Regions from separate parts of the Homo sapiens genome. Here regions 2, 3, 4 and 5 are each linked to region 1. Evidence: promoter capture Hi-C in 16 types of primary human blood cells and fetal thymus (Javierre and others, 2016). All regions are on one chromosome and are shown on one strand. Each heading gives the region's core, a stretch centred on a gene start or on the middle of the fragment in contact. The rest is flanking DNA. Distances are from core to core; before and after follow the strand shown. Region 1 holds the start of RARS1 (arginyl-tRNA synthetase 1). Region 2 has its middle 16 kb from the start of MAT2B. Region 3 has its middle 310 kb from the start of LINC03000. Region 4 overlaps RPL26L1 (ribosomal protein L26 like 1). Region 5 has its middle 280 kb from the start of LINC03000.

Region 1 (4,510 bases), core at 610-3,109:
ATAGCGAAACGCTGTCTCTACTAAAAATACAAAAATTAGCTAGGCATGGTGGCGCATGCCTGTAATCCTAGCTACTTGGGAGGCTGAGGCAGGAGAATTGCCTGAATCCCAGAGGCTGAGGTTGCGGTGAGTCGAGATCGTGCCACTGCACTCCAGTCTGCTTGACAGAGCGAGACTCTGTTTCAAAAAAAAAGAAAAAGAAAAAGAATATATTAACCACACATACATGTGTTTTGGGAGACAGGAATCGGAGTAAGTATATAATGGGATATGCCTCATGTCTCATATCCCTAGTTCTTTTCTTTGGCTCGATAAACACTCTGATTTAGCAAGAGTAGTTAAGTTTCAGGTTGACCAACCTGCTTTTATTCCCAAATCCTATGACCTGGGACTCTTAAAAAACCCAAATGTCCTTTGTCACATTCAAAATAGCTCAAGGGTCTGCCTTTCACCCTTTCTGGGACTAAACAATTTTCCCATTTCTTCCTGTTTCCAGTGTCTTAGGTCCTAGACTAGACCAGACCAGGCTTTGTAGTTTAACATCTAAAACTAAAGACATGTCAATTCAGAAAGAAATAAAGCTTCCAACTTAAACTGCAAAACTCAGGGGGAGTTCCTCACCTGAAATTTCAGAATACTTACTGGGAGATAGCTACAGCCAAAACCAAATTGCCAAAAATGAGCATACATTATGTTCCAGGAGCTGAGCTAAAAACACTTTTCAGAAATTACCTTCATGATTATCACAACCAAGTGAGGCAAAGATAAATACATACCGATAAATAAATGGCTCAGAAATGTAAAGAGCTTGCCAATTTACTTGACTAACTTGTACTTTGTGACTGCTGATTAAGTATACAGCCGTAACAGGACAGAGTACTGTGAACTATCTTCCTACCATCCCTCCCCACCTGGGCATAAAAGGTAATGGAACTGTTCCGCTTTCACTTTTTTTTTTTGTAGGGGGACGGAGTCTCACTCTGTCGCCCAGGCTGTGGTGCAGTGGTGTGCTCTCTGCTCACTGCAAGCTCCGCCTCCCGGGTTCACGCCATTCTCCTGCCTCAGCCTCCCGAGTAGCTAGGAATACAGGGACCCCCCCCAACACAGCCGGTTAAGTTTTTTTGTATTTTCAGTAGAGACGGAGTTTCACTGTGTTAGCCAGGATGGTCTCGATCTCCTGACATCGTGATCCGCCCACCTCGGCCTCCCAAAGTGCTGGGATTACAGGCATGAGCCACCGCGCCCGGCCGCTTTCACTTTTATATGGTGTGGCTGCTCCTTCCCGACGAATGCTGAGGGCACAGAGCAAGCTCCGCTGGTCTGATAATGAATCACCCCATGGGCTTATTAGGAATCCTCTCGCTCAGTAACCCGGGAAGAACTGCGGCTGAGCTGCAAACCAAGACCCAGAGCTCTGAATGTATTCCCCCCTTGTCTATCTCCCCGCATCCCCTAAATCGCGTGTGTATGCAGAAGAGGAGGTGGATTGTAGGGAGAGAACTGTTCTGAACATGCCAGGCTCCAGCCCACCGAAGACGCTGGTTTGGGGGAGGCCTGGGAGAGGGTGGGGACCCTCCATTCCGCTGAAAATCACAGTCACACGGGCTTTGAAATGATGGGTGCTTCCTCTCTCAACCCTTCCTGTTCCCACAGGGACCGTGCCGCTCCACTCTGAGAGGACCAGGATGGTCCTCGCCTAGCTGTCCCGCCCCCGAAGCCGCTTGGGCAGGAGTCAGAGCCTGCTCCATCTCTTTCAGGCCTTCCCGCCGGTCTCCTGCGTCCAAACCTGCTGCAGCAGCCGCGCGGAGCACTCAGACACCAGTACGTCCATCCTCCCATCAGCGTCTCACTCGCCAAGTGGACGGAAGCGGAAACGGTCAGCCTCTCCCGGAAGCGGAAACCCCCTCCGGTCCGCTGTCCCGTCGGACTGGGTGCTGGCGCCTCTGCTGCCTCCTGGCGGGATCCAGTAGACACTGCGAGGAGAACCCGCGGGGATTTCGGTCAGGAGCGAGGCCGCAACTCAGGGACGTTTGGGCGAGGGGAGAGGAATTGAGCAGACACTAACCAGAGCTGCTCTGTGCTTGGATAGACTAGGACAGTCACTGACCTAGAGCTTCTGGCTCTCAAAGGCCTCACTTTGCCCCTTTGTGAAATGGGCACAAAACTAACAAATCCATTCATTTATTCAACAAACATTTATTGTGTACTTTAAAATGCCAGACAGTATTCTAGGCTCTGGGGGCACAAAGAAAACAAAACAGACACGATCTCCCCTCTCACGGCAGACACATTTTAGAATGGAGAGAGAAAATAGACCAAAAAAGGCAATAATCTCAGGTAGTTTTAATTGCTAGGAAGGCAATGTGATAGAGTGACTTGGGTGAGAGAAGACATCTCTAAGCAAGTGACATTTGAGTTAAAATCTTATTTATTTTTCCAGTTTTATTGAGGTATAATTGACAAAGATTGTATATCATAACGATGTACAACGTAATGTTTTGATATATGTATACATTCTGAAATGATTACCACAACCAAAATAATTAACATAACCTTCATCTCATACAGTTATCATTTGCATGTGTGTGTGTGTGTGTGTGTGCGCGCGCGCGCGCGCGCGTGTGTGCTGTGAACATTTAAGATCTATTCTCATCCTGGGAAACAGCTAAGACCTCGTCTCTACAAAAAAATGGAAAAATAGCCGGGCATGGTGGCATGTGCCTGTAGTCCCTGGTATATAGGAGGCTGAGGTGGGAGGATCACTTGAGCCCAAGAATTTGAGGCTGCGGTGAGCCATGATCATGCCACTGTACTCTGCCTGGATGACAGAGTGAGACCTTTTCTCTCTCTATTTAAAAACAAACAAAACGAAACGAAAACGAAAACTGCAAGTATACAATATACATTACATCTCTAGAATCTATTCATCCCGCCTAACTGAAACTTTGTAACTTTGAGCAACATCTCCCATCTTTCCTACCTCTGAAGCCCTGACAACCACCATTCTATGCTCTGCTTCTATGAATCTGAATTTTTTAGATTACACATATACATGGGCTAATGTAGTATTTGTCTTTCTGTGCCCGGCTTATTGCACCAACATAATGTTCTCCAGGTTCATCTATGTTGTCACCCATAACAGGGTTTTCTTTTATAAGGCTGAATAATATTTCATTGTATATATATTGAGTTAAAATTATAAACAGCAAACCTGGGATATATGTTCTAAGAGGGCAGGGACCTTAATTATCTTGTTCACTCTTCTCTATGACTCCAGAACTTAGAAAGTAGCACTCTAAACGTTTTCGCTTCCGTGCCTCATAAAAGTATTTTAAAAATTCATATCCCAGTGTATACTTTTAAAAGTTGACATCGAGCTAGGCACAGTGGCTCATGTCTGTAATCCTAGCACTTTGGGAGGCTGAGGCAGGCAGATTTCTTGAGCCCAGGAGTCCAAGACCAGCCTGGAAAAAATGGTGAAACATCGTCTCTACCAAAAATACAAAACATTAGCCAGGCATGGTGGTGTGCACCTGTAGTCCCAGCTATATAGGAGACTTAGGAGGCAGGATTGTTTAAACCCAAGAGTTTGAGGTTGCAGTGAGCCATGATCTGGCCACTGCACTCCAGCCTGGGCAACGGAGTGAGACTCTGTCTCAAAAAAAAAAAAAAAAAAAAAAAAAAGACATCTAAAAACTCTTTTCACAACTTCTGGGAATGGATTATTTTCTGGCATGATGTTTCATAAGTGCTCTCACTATATTTTCGTCAAAACTGTGGATTTGCAAGTTTAGCTTGTCCAATTTATGGAACATGTCGGCCATATTGTTTCATTGGCAAAGCCAGTCCTCTTTGTCCAATTAAATAATCCAAATTATTTTACTTAATTTTTAACAAGCTTAAAGTTTGCCTTTATCTTTTTTCCTTTTAAATTAATTAATTAATTTTACCCAGAACTATATAAACTATCCTTTATTTTGTAAATCAAATAAAAGTGTTAATATACCAGTCCTTCCTTATCCGTGGGAGATACATTGCAACACCCCTCAGTGGATGCCTGAAACCGTGAATAGTACCAAGCCCTATATATATACTATGTTTTTTCAATCCAGTAATTCAGAGGGCTAATAAGTGACTAATGGGTGGGTAGTGTAGACAGCATGAATTTGTTGGGCAAGGGGGGATTCATATCCTGGGCAAGACAGAATGGGACGGTGGAGATTTCATCATGCTACCAAGAAATGGCATGCATTTTAAGACCTATGAATTGGTTATTTCTGAATTGGTTATTTAAGCCTATGAATTGGTAATTTTCCACTTAATATCTTGAGCACATAAGTAGGGGGGACTACTGTGCATGTTCCTGAAATGGCATTTGCAAAATTATGACAGTAAGAGAAATTTGACATCTTGCTTCACAGGCTGTCTGTCTTTGCTCATTTCTGGGCATGGGCCAAGCTAACTTTGTGGAAAATTTAGTTTATAGTTGAAATGATATTAGCCCTTCCCC
Region 2 (4,510 bases), core at 306-2,805, 5.0 Mb after region 1:
AACCCGGGAGGCGGAGCTTGCAGTGAGCCGAGATCGCGCCACTGCACTCCAGCCTGGGCGACAGAGCGAGACTCCGTCTCAAAAAAAAAAAAAAAAAAAAAAAGAAAAATTCAGAATGTTTTGGGGTTAACATTATGAAAGATGACTGTCCCTCATGCTGCTTAGAGAAATGTTATCCAACTACATAGACATTGGTGTCATCTTATTTGGTGTCATATCATATGGCATCTATTTTTTCCTCTTCCTTTCTTGACCTCTAGTTTCGGGGTGAATTGTAACTACAGACGAACACTTCTGAAGGCCAGAACCATCATCCCTCTTTCAACTTTCCAAGGACCTTATGTGTTCTAAGCACATAAAGCCTGGGGGTGACGCTGTATAAGGAAAATAAAAAATTATTTCCAGCCCTCCTATATGCCAAAGTGTTTGATTTATCTTGAATAATTTTTAGCATCTCACATTAAAACATTTTAAAGGCCATATATCAATTTTTCATTTCAAAGGGAATATTTTTTAAATCTATAACAAACTGGGGGGAAATTGAAATTGTTCAATAATATGTAGCATGTATATATGTCAAAAATTAGAATTGAAATGGGGACCATGGAAAGCAAAGTAACTGTAGACACAGCTGGGAAATTTCATGGCCATCTTTCAATGTAAATCACTTGCAAGTAAATACATGAAGTGAATGTATTCAATTTCCAGAGATACATTTATATGTATATAAATTCAAGTATTCTGGCTATTTCTGTAGCAAAATACAGAAAAGAACTTTCAGAAGTCCTTAGGTAAAACAAGTTACAAAAATAATTTTCTTTGAAATATTTTTAAATGCATTTACAAAATACTAAAATTAAGTCTAGAAAATACTTAAAAATCACAAAGAAAAACCACTGGTAATCTTATTTATGAGAGAAAACTCCTAATATCTTACAGCTGAAAGTGAAGGTAATATTACAAGACCACCATTTCTCCCCCATACCCCAACCCTTAGGCATTTGTTAAGTCCACAGCTACATGTGCTAGTATCTCTGTTCCAAGTATTTCCACGACAGACCTGTGAAATAGGTGGTATTCTTTTCATTTAACCCTAAAAATTACTTCAAGCTCCGAAAGGAAAAGCAACTTGCTACTAGCAAGTGGAAAAATCACGTTTGAATCTAGAGTTGTTTCTTTGCACTATACATAATACTTCCTTCAAGTAAAAAAAATATCTTGACTAGCCTACCCTTGAATTAAAACCTACTGCACAAAAAAAATTACAAAAAAGCCTACTGCTATATTTAATGTTGATGAGATGATTTGGCTGCCAAAAGGGTATAATTAGCTTATATTCCAGTACAGATACCTAACTTACAATGGGGTTACATCCTGATGAATCCTTCATAAATTTAAAATATCCTGAGTCAAAAATGCATTTAATACACATAAACCTACTGAATATCACAGCTTAGCCTAGCCTACCTTAAATATGCTCAGAACACTTACATTAGCCTACAGTTGGGCAACATCTAACACAAAGCCTATCTTATAGCAAAGTGTTAAATATCTTCTGTAATTTATTAAATACTATACTGAAAGTGAAAAACGGAATGGTTGTATGAGTACTTGAAGTATGGTTTCTATTGAATGTGATTACTTTCACACCATTGCAGTCAAAAAATCTGCTGAACCATTGTAAGTCAGGGACCATCTATACACCAACAAATTGTGATTTCCCTCATTGATACAATGGAATAAATGCAGCCAAAAAAAGAACTAGTTCCTTCTCTTTGGTGCTCTGCTGGTACATAGTGGCACATGTGATTCTTGGTGCAGTGCTCCATGGGTCGGGAGGATCCTTGACCAGGTACAGTGGTCCCTGCAGTCACTGGCATCAGGGCCAGGTCACATGGGTCTGGGAATGCTCAGCTGGCTTGGAGGCCTATGTAAAGTGGAGAACAGAGGAAGGCTTGGCTAGTGTCATCAGAATGATTCTTATGGATGAATGAAGCAAATGAATAAATAGAATAATGAGGGCTGAGGCTGGGCGCAGTGGCTCACGCCTGTAACCCCAGCACTTTGGGAGGCCAAGGCGGGCTGATCACGAGGTCAGGAGATCGAGATCATCCTGGCTAACACGGTGAAACGTCATCTCTACTAAAAATACAAAAAAAAAAAATTAGCTGGGTGTGGTGGCGGGTGCCTGTGGTCCCAGCCACTTGGGAGGCTGAGGCAGGAGAATGGCATGAACCTGGGAGGCAGAGCTTGCAGTGAGCTGAGATCATGCCACTGCACCTCCAGCCTGGATGACAGAGAGAGACTCCATCTCAAAAAAAAAAAAAAAAAAAAATTCGAGCTGAGCACTGTGGCTCATGTCTGTAGTCCCAGCACTTTGGGAGACCAAGGTGAGTGGATCGCTTGAGCTCAAGACTTTGAGAGCAGCCTAGGCAACATAGTGAAACTAAAAATACAAAAATTAGCTGGGTATGGTGGTACATGCCTGTAGTCCCAGCTACTCAGGAGGCTGAGGTGGGAGAATCACTTGAACCCAGGAGGTGGAGGCTGCAGTGAGCTGAGATTGTGCCACTGCACTCCAGCCTGGGTGAGAGTGACACCCTGTCTCAAAAAAAAGAACTGAGAATTCGGTTGCTGTCAGAGAAAGGTGCCACAAACATGGGAAGAGCCAAAATAAACCCTGTGGAACAAGACTGTAACTGGAGCTATCGATGTCAACTTATGGTTTCTTATACAGAGAAATGTCAAAAATATCAAGCTCATGAAAGACAAACACTGAGGAACTGTTCCATATTGAAGCTAAAGCAACATGGCGACACACACAAGTAATCTTGGACTGCATAGACCTATAAAGGAAACTGGAACAACTGATGAAATCTGAATGGGATCTTATGAAATTGAATGGTAATTTCTTGATTGTGATTATATTACAGGGTATATAGGCATGTATCCTTATTTTTAGAAAATATACACTGAGGTTTATATACTAAGTGGGTGATGAAGCATCGTATCTTCAACCTACTCTTCAATAGTTCAGGAAATAAAAATAGTATACATATGTAGTGTGCATGAAAATGATAGGGTAAATGTGCTAAATGCTGACAACTGGGGAATCTGGAAAGGGAAATACAGGCATTATTTATGCTATCATGGCAAATAATGAAATTTTTAAATGAAGATTTTTAAAAAGGACATTTTTGGCCAGGCACGGTGGCTCATACCTGTAATCCCAGCACTTTGGGAGACTGAGGTGCGCAGCTCACGAGGTCAGGAGATCGAGACCATCCTGGCCAACATGGTGAAACCCCATCTCTACTAAACATACAAAAATTAGCTGGGTGTAGTGGCGCTGCCTATAATCCTAGCTACTTGGGAGGCTGAGGCAGGAGAATCGCTTGAACCAGGGAGTCGGAGGTTGCAGCGAGCCGAGATCACACCGCTGCACTCCAGCCTGACAACAGCGCAAGACTCCGTCTCAAAAAAAAAAAAAAAAAAAAAAAAGGACATTATTTATATTATACAACAAATTCCAAATGAAAAAAAGGTCAGAGAATTGTATGTTATTCTTTGTGAGGGCGGATGGTGAGAGTATGGACACGTGAGTTTTTTGATTATATTCTTCTATATGCAGAGTGCCTCTAGAAACATATGCAAGGAACTGATCTACATCCATTTCTTCCACAGTTGAAAAACGGGTGGCTAGAGAATAACAACACTTTTTACTCTCCGAAACTTAATTATGCACTATATGAAATGTAGTAACTTAAAATATAAAACAAAATGCTTTAATTTAGTGGTTGCCAAATGCAATGCCAGACTGGCAACCTTAGAACCACCTGGGAAACATTTAAAAATAAATTAATAGGCCTCAATTCCCAAAATTTATTTCAGTAAGCCCAGGGTAGGACTCAGGTATCAGTAAAATTTCCCCAGTTAATTTCCTCAGCCTACTCAACATGAAGATAAGAATAAAGAACTTGATTATGATCCAGGCCAGGTGCAGTGGCTCACGCCTGTAGTGCCAGCACTTTGGGAGGCCGAGGAGGGTGGACTGCTTGAGGGCAGGAGTTTGAGACCAGCCTAGCCAACATGACAAAACCTCATTTCTACTAAAAATACAAAACTCAGCTGGGCGTGGTGGCGGGTGCCTGTAATCCCAGCTACTCGAGTGGCTGAGGGAGGAGAATTGCTTGAACCCAGGAGGCGGAGGTTGCAGTGAGCTGAGAATGCACCACTGTACCCCAGCCTATGCGACAGAGCGAGACCTTGTCTAAAAAAAAAAAAAAAAAACTTTATGATAATCTACTTCCACTTAATGAATAGTAAATATATTTTCCCTTCCTTGAGATTTTCTTAATAATATTTTCTTTTCTCTAGGCTACTTTAAGAATACAGTATGTAATACACAGAAGATAGAAATATGTTAAATGACTATGTTTATCAGTAAGGCTTCTGGTCAACAGCAGGTTTTTACTAATTAAGTATTTGGGGAGTCCAGAGTTATAGTGGA
Region 3 (4,510 bases), core at 1,130-3,629, 4.5 Mb after region 1:
AAGAACACAGTCTGATTTTAAGCTAGTTGTTATTGTTTCTTTCTCTGGCTAGCTGGCTGGCAGTCTGTGAAGGATGTTGTGAATGTGTGGATTTGTGTAGTGTCCTCCCCAGCTACACAAATCTTTTGCATGGGAGCATCTGGTTTAATTCTTCTTTCTCTGTCAGTGCCCCAGCAAGGCAGCCCATCCCAGACTCGCTGCGAAGCCGTTCTCCTGTCAGGAGGATGCTTTTAGTGCAGTTTTGCAAAGTCACTCAAGTCTCACCATTATCCACATTGTTACTCATGCCAGAGAAGGCTCTCACGCCCTTGCTCAATAGGATGCAGTTAGAAATGACATTCCAGGTCTTTCAAGGATGGCTCATCAGAGACATTCAGCTTCTGCCCGAACCTCCTAGAATGCTTGTTCTGGGAGAAGCCAGTTGCCATGTGAGAAGTTCAGTTACTCTGAGATAGTCATGCTGTGAGGATGTCCAGGCTAGCCATCTAGAGAGGCCCTGAGAAGAAAGATGAGTTCCAGCCATTCCAGCCTCGTTAGGTGAGGGAAAAAGCCATCCTGGACATTCCAGACATAGTAGAGTTGGCATAGAAAATAACTAAGAATCCAGCCAATGGCAAATGCTGAAACACTAAGCATATGGCCACAACTGAGCCACCCGAGCTGAAGCCCAAGTCGTCATGGAACAGAGACAAGTCATCCCCACTGTGCCCTACCTGAACTACTGATCCACAAACTTGCAAGGATAGCAAATGTTTGTTTATACCACTAAGTTTTAGGGCTGTAGTTACACAGCCATAGATAACCTACTACTACTACTATATCACCACACATTCAAACATTTTTCAGCCTTTTTAAGATATTTACGTATATTTTTGTAGGTAGCTAAAGTTCCTCCAGTAGTAATTGCTATATAAGGTTATTTGTTTAAAAACAGTTGTACTTCAGCTGAATTAGAATGGGTTTTGCTATCATACTGACAGCTACAAACTGTCTCTGTGATCTAGGGCAAGTAACATTAACTCCTCTGTACTTTATTTTATTTATTTTTTAAAGGGAATAATATAAACCATTTCATGGGACTCCATGGGAATTTAATAACATAAAATGCAAAAGATGTTTTTTCACAGTTTCTAACACATCATAGGTACTTAACTAATAGTGGCCCTTTGGAATGATAATATTAATATATTTTCACTTTCATTACTGTCCTTCATAAAAGCCAGATGTGCACAAATACCTAAAGGAACTATTTCTGACACAGTAAAAAAGTAGTTTGCATTTAAAGGAGTAAAATCTGTTCAGATATTACATTATTTTATCTGCTTTCAGTCCATTTCGAATAAGCTTAAGAAGTCTTGTCAGTCATCCCAAGAATGCCTGTTTATCCTACCAGGAAGAGATCTTAACATTTGAAGTTACCCCATCCTTACTTGAAACATTTGTGAAAAAAGATCTTCACATATATGAGGAAAAAGTAAACAAATATAAATTATAGGAATTTAACCTGCCACGATGTAATAAAAAGAGAAAAATTGTGGGGGAAGGGGGGAAGAATCTCACAAATATTTCAATCAAATTAGCATCTAACATAAGTTAGACAGGACTGAGAAGATAATTACCTGCCTAGAAAAACAATTAAATGAAGGTTTTTGTCTTTTTGTCTTCTTCTTTCTTTTTTTTTTTTCTTAAACAACATATGCTGCTGTTAGAAAGAAATGATGGAAGCACTTCTTCTGATAATATGATATTTTAAGAGTTACTTTTTGGGGAATATACCTCTAAATATAAAAACATGAATGCTTGGTGTGAAGGTAAAGTTATGCATAATCAAATGCAGCTGGGCAGCCAAGTCCATCCTCACACAGGCAATTCATTTCACTAGACCTTGATTGGATATTATTATTTTACCTGTTCATAATAAAGTGGTTCTTTGAAGCAAGTATTATATTCCAACAGTTCCTTCTGTTTTATTGGAAAAGCAGGATCTGTGAATCCTTTCTTGATAACTGTAGGCTGTTCATCTCAACTGATTATTCATTTTACTGGAGTCCTTCTTCAAGAGGGTGTCAAGGACTTTTATTTTTGTCATAGAAACACTAATTTGCATTTGAAAGATGGGAAGTTGGGAATAAAGTCTTCAACTAATTATAATCAGTGACTACATCTCTGTGCCAAAGCCTGTGCACGGTCACAAAGGATCGAAGAAGAGTAATGTACGTTTTACTCCTCTTTGTGTTTTCATCAAAATCATAGAGATTTTTTACTACTCTCTTCCACATCTCATTTTTCATCATTTCCTATCTTTGTATTATATGTGAAACATGCTTGGCCATTCAAATAGTCAATATTCTAATTCTTTCTCTTACAATTAAGTGTTCTCTTCTTCCCCTCCTTCAACTTTCTTTGTTGTTTTAATTTTCTAATTGTGAGAAAAAGCACAGAATAAAATATGAATGTGAGGAAAATAAGAAGTGAGTATATTTTCTAATTTATATTTCAACAAAAAGTGAGAAAGATATATTACTGAATATCTCTAAAGAAACCATAGTTTAGTATAGGTAATTAGTATTTGAAGTCACAATTAGCTTTTATATGTATTATATCTTTGAAGGAAATCTATATTTCATATGTGGTATTGCTAACAGATAAAGCAGTCTGTGAAATATCAAAATAAAATTACCAAAGCAAGTCACCTATAAACATGAAAAAAATAAAACTAAAAATAATGAAGAAAAATAACAACAATAAACAAAAGCCATGCACTCTCTAGTAGAACAAGAGAGTTGAGTGCATAGTGGTAATAAAAACTTATTATGAAAAAAGTGATTGTAACAAAATAGGTTCAAATTTCAAAGGGAAAGGATAGGGAGAAAAAAATTATGACAGAGAAAGGAATGAATTCATATAAAGTAAGACTTGATGAAGCAGCTCATGTTTAAAAGAAAAAAATTTTTAATCACAAATATTTATTTAATCACACCATCTTGAACTCAACCCAGAACCTCGATTTTATATATTAATAGCATATAGAGAAACATTCTGAGCCATGGAATAGATTTAAATTTTGACATTCTTAAAGAGCAAAGAATAGGTGCAATGTGATCTTTTCATTAAATTACAAGATCAAAACAAAACAAAGTTTAAATGAATTTCCAAATGTGGAAATTGGTACCATTTTAGGGTTGATTTCGCCTAACAGATTATCCATCAATGTATCTGCATATATTTTTATCAGAAATGTATTAAAAGAGACTTTGAATCCAATATTTGATAATGCTGGTAAAATACACTTTAGCTATGGTATCTGCTCTGTAAATACGAAAATACCATTCAACCAGCATTTTCAGGTCACAGGTGCCTCTAACTGTGACTATTCAATTATTATAAAATAAACTTGAGCCAATTCTAAGCTTGTATGTTTTACAGTCTAATTTTCATTAAATTAAATTTTAAAAGATTTTTGCCTCTCGATATTCTAGTTTCATAAAGAGTCACACTAAACACCTATAAGCAAAATAACAAGTACAAAAAAAGAGACATATTCAGGCACTGATTGATTTCTTATCTTCAGAATGAGATTGGCAAAGCCAAGAGCCAATGAATGAATGAGAGAACTATTGCTCTAATATATACTTCAACTATTACCCTTGGAAATGGCAACGAAACTAATAATAGCAAGCAATAACAATAATGAATCTTATTAGTTTTTCATGATGATGATGACGATGATAATGATGATGATGATCATGATTACCCTAGGTTGGAAATAAGATTACAAGAAAGAATATTGTGCAAGATGTTCTCTAAAATTATACATAGAATATGTTCTCTTCCATATGTGCAACATTTCTTTCAGACAATGTACAAGGTAGTAGCTATTCTTTGATGCATAATAACCAGAAAGATAATTCCAACAACTCCCATTAAATTGTGGTTATAGTTACAATGGCAGTGGGTACTAAAAGCAGCATATATACATTCTTTTCTCATATCTGCGATATTATTTATCATCTGTAAATCTGAGAAATCCTCTTGCCCCCAGCCCAGAGAGAAATTATCTAATGTCTGCAAATGAATTAAGCCATTGGATTTTTCAAGGTAAAACCAAGTATGCTTAATTTTTATCCTACAAGTTGGGTTTATATCAAAAGCACCTAATTTTTAAATGCCCTGATGTGTAATAATATTGCTCATTTTATGCCATTACATTTGTTTAAAAATAGTAATCCTATATTTTTAATAAAACTAATGTCAACCATGCAGTTGCCTAATTGTGATAACTTCATAAAACAGCAGGTGGTTTTAGGTCATTGTTGTTCCAAGACACTGTTAGAAATATTGATAAAAGTTTATGTTTCAGTAGCATTAAGCTACTATCTTCCAACAGAACCTGTACTGTGCATGATTATAGCAGTCATTAATATTATGAAACTGTAGTCCATCACCCCCCCCCACACGCGCGCGCACACACACACACACACACACACACACACACACACATCTTCTTTCA
Region 4 (4,510 bases), core at 663-3,162, 4.5 Mb before region 1:
CTTGACCATACCTTGCTTGGGTGAATGCCCACGTGGACAGTTGTGCCGTTGGCCTTCTCACGCTGCACCCGCTCGATGTAGATGACATATTTCTTTCTGTACACCTGGACTACCTTGCCAATTTGCTGACCTTTGTAGTGTCCTCGAACTACCTAAGAGAAAATACAAAAGAGAATCCCCCTCCATTTGTAGTGCATGATCATAAAGAGGAAGCTAACCATCAGGAACACATGGGCTAAACATATAACTTTGTCAAAAGCAGCTTAATCCTGGCAGTCAAAAATTAGCTACTTTTCTGATATAAATCTGTGTTGTGCTATGGTTGGGTGGAGATTTTTTACCTGGATCCCACAGAAATGTGCGATATGAGCTTTAGAGGAAAAAGGAGAATACAAAACTACATATAGAATATACTCTGAACTATATATATATACATATATATGTCAAGTATCCCTTATTCGAAATGCTTGAGACCAGAAGTGTTTTGGATTTAGGGTTTTTGGGATTTTGGAATATCTGCATTACTAGCTAAGCACCCCAAATCTGAAAATCTGAAATCCCAAAAGCTCCAAAGAACACTTCCTTTGACCATCACGTTGACAAAGTCTCAGATTTTGGAGCATTCTGAATTTGAGATACTCAAACTATATGAGTGTATGTGTGTGTGTATATATATAATATATATTACATATGTGCGTATATGTATTTATATGTCATATATACATACACGTATCATATACATACACATATGTACTTATATGTAACATACATATATGTCATACATACATATATGTACTTATATGTCATATATACATATATGTGTATACATACGTATATATGTGTATATATGTATATATACACACACATTTCATATATATAGCATGACACAGTGGGATAAAATATATATATAAATATTGGTAACAGCTGCCATTAGGCAGGAAGCAGGATTACAGATGACTGATTTTTAGATTTATATTCTTCTAAATTTCAACATTTCTACATTTAATACAAATATTTTAAAGTCAGAAAAAAAATTTTAAATCTCACAGACTGTTTTACTGTACTAAAAATCTACTCTATTCAAAAACCAACTAGATTAGGGTTTCCTTGAAAGCAAGAGCTTATTTATTTATTTATTTATTTTTGACACGGAGTCTCGCTCTGTTCCCCCAGGCTGGAGGGCACTGGCATGATCTTGGCTCACTGCAACCTCCACCTCCCAGGTTCAAGTGATTCTCCTGCCTCAGCCTCCCAAGTAGCTGGGATTATAGGCACGCACCAGCAGGCCTGGCTAATTTTTGTATTTTTAGTAGAGACCAGGTTTCGCCATATTGGCCAGGCTGGTCTCGAACTCCTGACCTCAAGTGATCTGCCTGCCTCGGCCTCCCAAAGTGCTGGGATTACAGGTGTGAGCCACCATGCCCAGCCACAAGAGCTTATTAAACACCATGCATGGGGGCCGGGCACGGTGGTTCACACCTGTAATCCCAGCACTTTGGGAGGCCAAAGCCGGTGGATCATGAGGTCAAGAGATCGAGACCATCCAGGCCAACATGGTGAAACCCTGTCTCTACTAAAAATACAAAAATTAGCTGGGCGTGGTGGTGGGCGCCTGTAGACCCAGCTACTCGGGGGGCTGAGGCAGGAGAATCACTTGAACCTGGAAGGCGGAGGTTGCAGTGAGCTGAGATGGTGCCACTGCACTCCAGGCTGGCGACAGAGCGAGACACCGCCTCAAAAAAAAAAAACCACCAGGTACGATGTGACTCTGATTAATAAGCATAGAGGAGATACCACATATAAAGAACTAGAGAACCCCAATACTCCTAAAATGTCTACGTATAGCTTGTTTGGCTTATTTTCCAAGGCGATTTTTAGGTTGAAGAGGACAATCATATCTCAGTGAAAAATCTACCACAGACTACATGACCAGAGACTCTCAGGACACACCTGGAAGAAGTCTTGTTAATACCATCAAGACTGAAGAAATACACACATACACACTTTTTTTAAGAGACAGGGTTTCACTATGCTGCCCAGGCTGGTCTCAAACACCTGAGCTCAAGAGATCCACCCACCTTGGCCTTCCAAAGTGCTGGGATTACATGTGTGAGCCACTGCACCTGGCCAAGACTGAAGAAAGATCTTAGGCCGGGCATGGTGGCTCACAGCTGTAATCCTGGTACTTTAGGAAGCTCAGGCAGGTGGACTGCTTGAGTCCAGGAGTTGGAGACCAGCCGAGGCAACATAGCAAGACCCCGTCTCTACAAAAAAAAAAAAAAAAAAAAAAAAAAAAATAGTTAGCCAGACATGGTGGCATGCGCCTATGATCCCAGCTACTCGGGAGGCTGAGGTGGGAGGATCACTTGAACCCAGGAGGTTGAGTCTGCAGCAACCTGTTTTTGCACCACTGTACTCCAGCCTGGGTGACAGAGTGAGATCCTGTCTCAAAATAAAATAAAATAAAAAATTAATTTAAAAAATTTTTAAAAAGAGAAGTGGACAACCTCTGGACATAGTGAAGAGGAAGACAGGAGACAGGATAAGACTAAGTCGGCTGGTCGACTAGACTGGAGAGGTGAGGATGAAGAGGGAAGGATGATACTCAGAGTCTGGCTTGGGCAACCAGGTGGATGGCAATGCCATTGCCAGATGCAGAGATCATAGGGGAAGCCCCGTATTTTAGGAGGAAATAGTTTAGTTTGGAACATGCTAAATTTGAAGCATCTGGGGACATTCTAACAGAGAATTCAGACACAGCTGGAATGCCAACTGGGCCAGCAATAGAGACGTGGGAGTCATCCACAGAGAGGCAATTAGGAGCTTCATGTTGCTCAAGGAGTGATGGTATGAGAAAAGGGCAGAATGTACACATGTGAGAAAAGCCAGCATTTTGGAAGAGCTTGTGAGAGATTAATGTGGCCAGAGCGAATGGGAAATCATGCAAGTGTGGTGTTACAGCAGCCAAGAGAATGTCAAATTCTGTGGGACTGTCAAGAACACAGAGGATAAGGTATTTAACAGATCTGACAACAAGGTCATCAACAGTGGCTGTGGCTGGAATGCCTTCACTGAGTGCTGGGATGGAGGCCATTAACAGTAAAGTGATGAGTGTACCAGGTGAGAAGGTGAAGGTGAGAAAAGACAGTCCAAAGGAGCTTGGCTCTGAAGATGAGAAGGGGATAGATGTTTGAGGGGGATGGAAAGCTAAGGGAACTTTCCTTTATTTTTTATTTTTAAAGAAGGGAAAACATGATTGTGTTTAAATGCTGATGGAAGGAACAAGTATGGAGGAAGACGGTAAAAGAAACTACAGAGAAAGAAGATAAGGGACCAAAAAAGCTCCAAGAGAAGAATGGAGCAGCACCCAGTGGCAGATGGATTAGGCTTAGGCAGAAACAGGGATATTTCTTTCTTTTTTTTTTGAGACAGAGACTTGCTGTGTTACCCATGCTGGAGTGCAGTGGCGTGATCTTGGCTCACCACAACCTCCGCCTTCTGGGTTCAAGTGATATCTCATTGCCTCAGCCTCCCTTGTAGCTGGGATTACAGGCATGTGCCATCACGCCCAGCTAATCTTTATATTTTTAGTGCAGACGGAATTTCGCCATGTTGGCCAGGCTGGTCTCGAACTCCTGGCCTCAAGCGATCCACCTGTCTTGGCCTCTCAGAGTGTTGAGATTACAGGCGTGAGCCACTGCACCAGGCCTGGGATATTTCTTTCATTGTAACAGAAGGGAAAGAAAATAAGAGGGGTGGAACTACAGGTAAACGTGTAGGTGTGGAGCCACGATTTCTGAAAGTTCCTGGCTGATAACTTCAATTTTCTCTGTAAAGTAGGAGGAACCATCACCTACTCAGAGAAAGAGGAAGGTAAGTGAGATTCAGAAGATCCCGTGAGAGGAGGCAATATTAACAAACCCAATCAGGGCTATTTTATTCTCCTGGTGGAGAAGTGTTCAGCCAGCATGGCCTTTGGCTGAAACAATTCATACCTCTTAGGCATTCAAAAAATGGCAACAGGCAGCCGGGCGTGGTGGCTCACGCCTGTAATCCCAGCACTTGGGGAGGCTGAGGCGGGTGGATCACCTGAGGTCAGGAGTTCGAGACCAGACTGACCAACATGGTAAAACCCCGTCTCTATTAAAAATATGAAAATTAGCCAGGCATGGTGGTGTGTGCCTGTAATCTCAGCTACTTGGGAGGCTGAGGGAGGAGAATGGCTTGAACCCGGGAGGCAGAGGTTGCAGTGAGCCGAGATTGTGCCACTGCACTCCAGCCTGGGCAACAAGAGTGAAACTCTGTCTCAAAAAAAAAAAAAAAAAAAAAGGCAACAGGCCAGACACTGTGGCTCATGCCTGTAATCCCAGCACTTTGGGAGGCCAAGGCAGAAGGATTGCTTGAAGCCAGGAGTTTGAGACCAGCCTGGGCAGCAAAGCAATACCTATTTTTAAATAAATAAATAAATAAATAAATGTCTCTAATTTAAAATATATATATATTTAACAGC
Region 5 (4,510 bases), core at 1,430-3,929, 4.5 Mb after region 1:
TCATCTGTAAAATGGGGACAAGGGTATTTCTACATAAGTTGTTGGGAAGATTAAATAAGTAAAATGTTAAGAACAATGCAGTACACATAGTGAATGCTCAATAAGCCTTAACTATTCTATTGGATATAATTGTGCCTGTGTGAAGGTCATGTGGTTTGATAGACTGTGCAGCCTCCAAATCCCAGAGTTCATAATTTCTGAAGTGGCTAGAACTTTACTGTTCAATAAAGAAGCTAGTGGACACATTTGGCTATTTACATTTAAATGTAAATAAATTTAAATTACATAAAAACGTAAAATCCAGTTCCTCAATCACACTGGCCACATTTGAAGTGCTCAGTAACCACAAATGGCTAGTGATTATCTTATTGGGCAGCACAAATATGGAAGGCTTTTATTATCACAGAAAACTCTTTTGCATAGCACGTTCAATAAACGCCCCAGTGTCAAGGAATATTGTAAGGTTTTTAGAGAGCTGGAGAAAGCTTAATATACTCGCAAAATCATACATACATGGCAGTCATAGCTCTTTCATGGTAAATTTAAAAACCATAATAGATTTGAAATCAAATAAGCATGGCATCATTAACTCTGTGCTGAATATATAGTTGGGCTTCCAGGTTTCTGATGTTGTGATGAAAACAATTTGTTTTGACCTTCACCTTCTGTGGACAGCCAATCCAAAATGATTATCCTTCTTGTGGTAATGACATCATTTTCTCATAATCTTAAAACTCTGGCTTAGATCAAGTAGGTAAGAAAAGAGGGCACTTATAATTCAGGTCATGTTCACATTATCAGGGATGAACAATATGCTTTAATATCCTGAGTCTAACATATCGCTTAACTTACTCTAACATTTTTCTTTCTGTTCTAACCACATATTCTCCATTCTAGCCCCAGTGAAAGTGCAGAATTTATACCAAGGCCATCAGCACAAGGAGTTCAAAATGTACTCTCAAGCAAGAATGACAAGCATGTCACCACTCCAATATTCCATACCCACAGCCAATATTGCTAATCAATCCATAACATTCTCTCCATTGTCTTGGATGCGGCCTCAGAATCCTTCTCAACACAAGACTCCAGGTAGCACCCATCAAACAATTAATATTTCCATTCGAATACGGACAATGACAAGTAGTTGTCATTTCTGGGTCAAAGAATGTTTACTAGATAGAAAGAATCAAAGAAACAGGGGAAAGTCAGTTTTCCCATTTAAACAATGCTACTTTCCTTAAGGCACAATCAGGGTTTCGCTTCGCCTCCCTTTTTTAGTATAAGAGAAATGCTCTTTAACCAAGAATTCAGTGGAGCAACAGTGCCACCCAATGGCTGGTTAGATTAGTTTTGCATTTAACTGTTACCATCTTAAGAGAGAAACTGTCTTTCACTCATAAAAATGGGAGCTGGAATTGACTATTAACTGTTTAAGCTGCTATTCCCGTTTTCCTGAATGATAGTTACAGAAAAAGTAGGGGGAGTTCTGAGAAATGGGAATTGTCTTGAAACAAAAATCTCAGCACGTTTCTGTTATCAAACAGCTCAACAAGAAGAAAGGTTCCAAGTGAATTTACAAATGAACAGGACAGATTTTTCACTTCTTATATATAAAGGGGTAGAATGGGCAAGTTTCCCCACCCACCTCCTTGCCCCAGAGGTGAGCGTGGTTCTTTCTTTCCTATTTTCTAATAAATCACTGTGCTAAACGTCCCCTACTAGAAACATTAGAGTAGGTATATATATTGCAGCATTTTATATGCAAAAAAAGAGTGTAGAGGCTATGACAAGTGTTATAAATAGAAGTATTATTTAGTTTAAAGGGAAGCAGAATTTACATTTCCCAAATCGGAGACCACTCAAGCTTTGAGATTCAAGTAAGCAAAATAAATCTGAGCTTTTTGCACTGTGAAATCGAAGTTCTAACTCTATTAATAGAAGAGGTGAGTAATAGATTTTCCTGGTCTGATGGTGGTGGGATTTTATTACCCAATCTTCGTGATCTGCATAGTTCATCAGCCACTTTTCCAACGTGAGGTGACAGGGAGTCCCCAGGCACTAAGGCTGCATGTTGCTAAGTGCTGGGTTTTTCTCTCCCTTGGAGGGACTTATTTGAAGTTCTGGAGACATCCTCACAGGACTTAAGCCCAAGGAAAGCAAAAAGCCTGCTCTTCCTTTTAACTTCCAATCAATCAAAATGTTCACAGAATATATTTAAAAAAAAAAAACACGTTGATATTCTTTAAAAAAATTCCAGCAAACAGAATGAGTTGGTGCTAGGTTGATCTGATAATTTTTAATGTATAAAGAAGTTACACACAAATATTTATTACTGTTTACTAGGGATTGCTATGATTAATGACTTTTGAAAAAAATCAAATTTCCAATCTGCTGTTAATTTATGGTCAAAGGGCTTTTGCCCAGAACTTTTTAACTCAACCTTTGTCCTCTGGTTATTTTGGTGAGATGAACTGTGTTTTGCTGATAAATATGATTGATTGAAAAAAGACTCTGGCCTTTAAAGAGAAACTAGCAGGCTGAACAGAGGCACACAGCAAATATTTTATGCAAAAGCCAAAAATACAGTGCTAGTGAATCTGAGAAGAATATTCAATTAACTTCAGGTTTCTTCATTGAGTCAGTAGGTAGGAAGTTCAATTATAAGAAGTTTCATGGGTTATTTTAGTATTTTTTAAATAATTGTAATTTATTCTTACAGTGATGAGATTGTATGAAGTAGTTCAATGAGAGGCAAGAAGATGTGAAGCGTACATGGGCAAAATTTTAGATCAGCGGACCTGTGAATGAATCCTAGTACAGCCAGAAATGATCCATGTGAATTTGTGTAAATTACTTAACATCTATGAGCTTCAATTCCCCAGCCTGTTAAATGGAACACCAATAGCACAAACCCATAATATCATTATGAGGATTAATGAGCATGGTGTATGGTGAGAGAAGACAGAATATTCAGAGGGAATGTCTCAAGTCAGCAATGGAACTGGAGTAACAGGAGATGAAAGGAGAAAGGAAGATTTGCAATCCAATAATGATAATTATTTTGGAATACTGACACATCCTTAGGCTTAATGTAAGTGGCCAGAGACTATAAACTAATAGGTCCGTACAGCCAGTGGTGGTCTTGCAGATATGTCTTGTTAGATGACAGTGCTTAACTTTGGAATGTGTTTACTTGGAAGAGGGTCCTATATTTGCCATTTGCCACCAATGGTCCCATCATTTTCTACTGTGCTCAACCCATCTGGATTCTCTCATTTCTATCTCTCTGGTCTCTCCTGGCTTTGGACTTTTTGACCTGTGTTTGGCAAATAAAAGAAAATAACTGTTCGAAATGAGTCCTGAGATTTCAAATGATCAATTATGTGGCAGAATTCATGTTATACTCCCTAAATTGACTGGCAGAGAGGTTTCAGCTTACATGCCAGCTCTCTTGATTGGCGGCAACTGCCCCAAATGTGTGTTACGAAGCTTCTGAGGCTGCTGCCAAGTTCAGTGTTCTAGAGGGCAAGAGATAGCTGTCCTATGTCCTACTTCACTTGTCCTCAGAATGCAATCCACTGAGCATAAGCAACATATTATTTGATTTTTTCCTATGCCATTTAATATGGTAGTCACCAGCCACATGTGGCTACTAAGCATGAGAAATGTGACTAGTCCAAGTTGAAATATACTGTAAGTATAATATGCACACCAGCTTTCAAAGGTTTGCTACAAAACATAGAGTGTAAAAATCTCATTAATAATTTTTAATATTGACTATGTGGTAAAAAGGTAATATTTCTGATATATTGTGCTAAATACAATATAAAAATTTACCTTAAAAAACTTTTTAATGCAGCTGCTAGAAAAATTCGAACTTACATATGTGCCTCAAATTATATTTCTGTTGAATATTATTATATATTATATATCTTAATATATAATATAATGATGTAGTAATAGTAAAAATAGTTACTGGCCTTCATATATTATTTGTGCAATTTTTATTGAACTACAGACCCCGCCAAAGTATTATTTGGGTCCAAAAAATAAAAGGAGATAACTCTCAAAAGGAAAAATGATGAAAATTTCCAGTAGAGATTCTATTTATTTTTTAAATTCAATTTTCTCAGTGTTTTTATTGTTTGATTTATTTATTTTTCATTTGTATAAACTTATGGGGTACAAGTGTAATTTTGTGAGTTGCCTAGATTGTAATATAGTGGTAAAGTCTTTTGACCTTTTTTCTCAATGAAATTCTCAAAGTGCCTTCTTCGCCACACACAAACATCAACTGAGAATCACTGCTCTAGAAAGGGTCAGCAAACTAAAGACGATGGAAAAACATCCACCAGCCACATATCTATGTTTCCACCATATTGTCTATGGCTCCTTTTGCATTATAATGGCTAGGTTGACTAATTGTGACAGAGAGGATCCCCAAGGGGTCCTCAAAGTCCAAATTATCTACTGTCTGGCCCTTTACAGAAAATGTTTGCTGACCCCTGCT

What was found. The method cuts DNA at HindIII sites, captures the fragments that hold promoters and counts their contacts. A CHiCAGO score of 5 or more calls a contact.
Region 2: a fragment that was not itself captured here is called in contact with the fragment with the promoter of RARS1 in region 1 in 3 of 17 cell types (naive CD8 T cells, total B cells and total CD8 T cells); the score reaches 11.2 in naive CD8 T cells.
Region 3: a contact is called between a fragment that was not itself captured here and the fragment with the promoter of RARS1 in region 1, in 1 of 17 cell types (total B cells). The highest score is 5.5, in total B cells.
Region 4: a fragment that was not itself captured here is called in contact with the fragment with the promoter of RARS1 in region 1 in 1 of 17 cell types (naive CD8 T cells); the score reaches 5.3 in naive CD8 T cells.
Region 5: a fragment that was not itself captured here is called in contact with the fragment with the promoter of RARS1 in region 1 in 2 of 17 cell types (total B cells and naive B cells); the score reaches 9.8 in total B cells.

What each region holds. Positions count from the first base shown.
Region 1 is chr5:168,483,820-168,488,329 of GRCh38, reverse strand. RARS1 (arginyl-tRNA synthetase 1) reads right to left here and starts at 1,859. Exons shown (of 15, transcript NM_002887.4): 1 at 1,787-1,859. The coding sequence starts at 1,831. The HindIII fragment of the contact is 3,317 bases long and covers 584-3,900 here.
Region 2 is chr5:163,519,499-163,524,008 of GRCh38, reverse strand. No RefSeq gene overlaps it. Among named protein-coding and RNA genes, the nearest start is that of MAT2B, 16 kb to the right of the region's middle. The HindIII fragment of the contact is 9,934 bases long and covers 1-4,510 here.
Region 3 is chr5:163,989,174-163,993,683 of GRCh38, reverse strand. No RefSeq gene overlaps it. Among named protein-coding and RNA genes, the nearest start is that of LINC03000, 310 kb to the left of the region's middle. The HindIII fragment of the contact is 2,066 bases long and covers 1,347-3,412 here.
Region 4 is chr5:172,964,101-172,968,610 of GRCh38, reverse strand. RPL26L1 (ribosomal protein L26 like 1) reads right to left here. Exons shown (of 4, transcript NM_016093.4): 3 at 12-152. Among named protein-coding and RNA genes, the nearest start is that of RPL26L1, 6.9 kb to the right of the region's middle. The HindIII fragment of the contact is 9,586 bases long and covers 1-4,510 here.
Region 5 is chr5:164,010,085-164,014,594 of GRCh38, reverse strand. No RefSeq gene overlaps it. Among named protein-coding and RNA genes, the nearest start is that of LINC03000, 280 kb to the left of the region's middle. The HindIII fragment of the contact is 1,625 bases long and covers 1,867-3,491 here.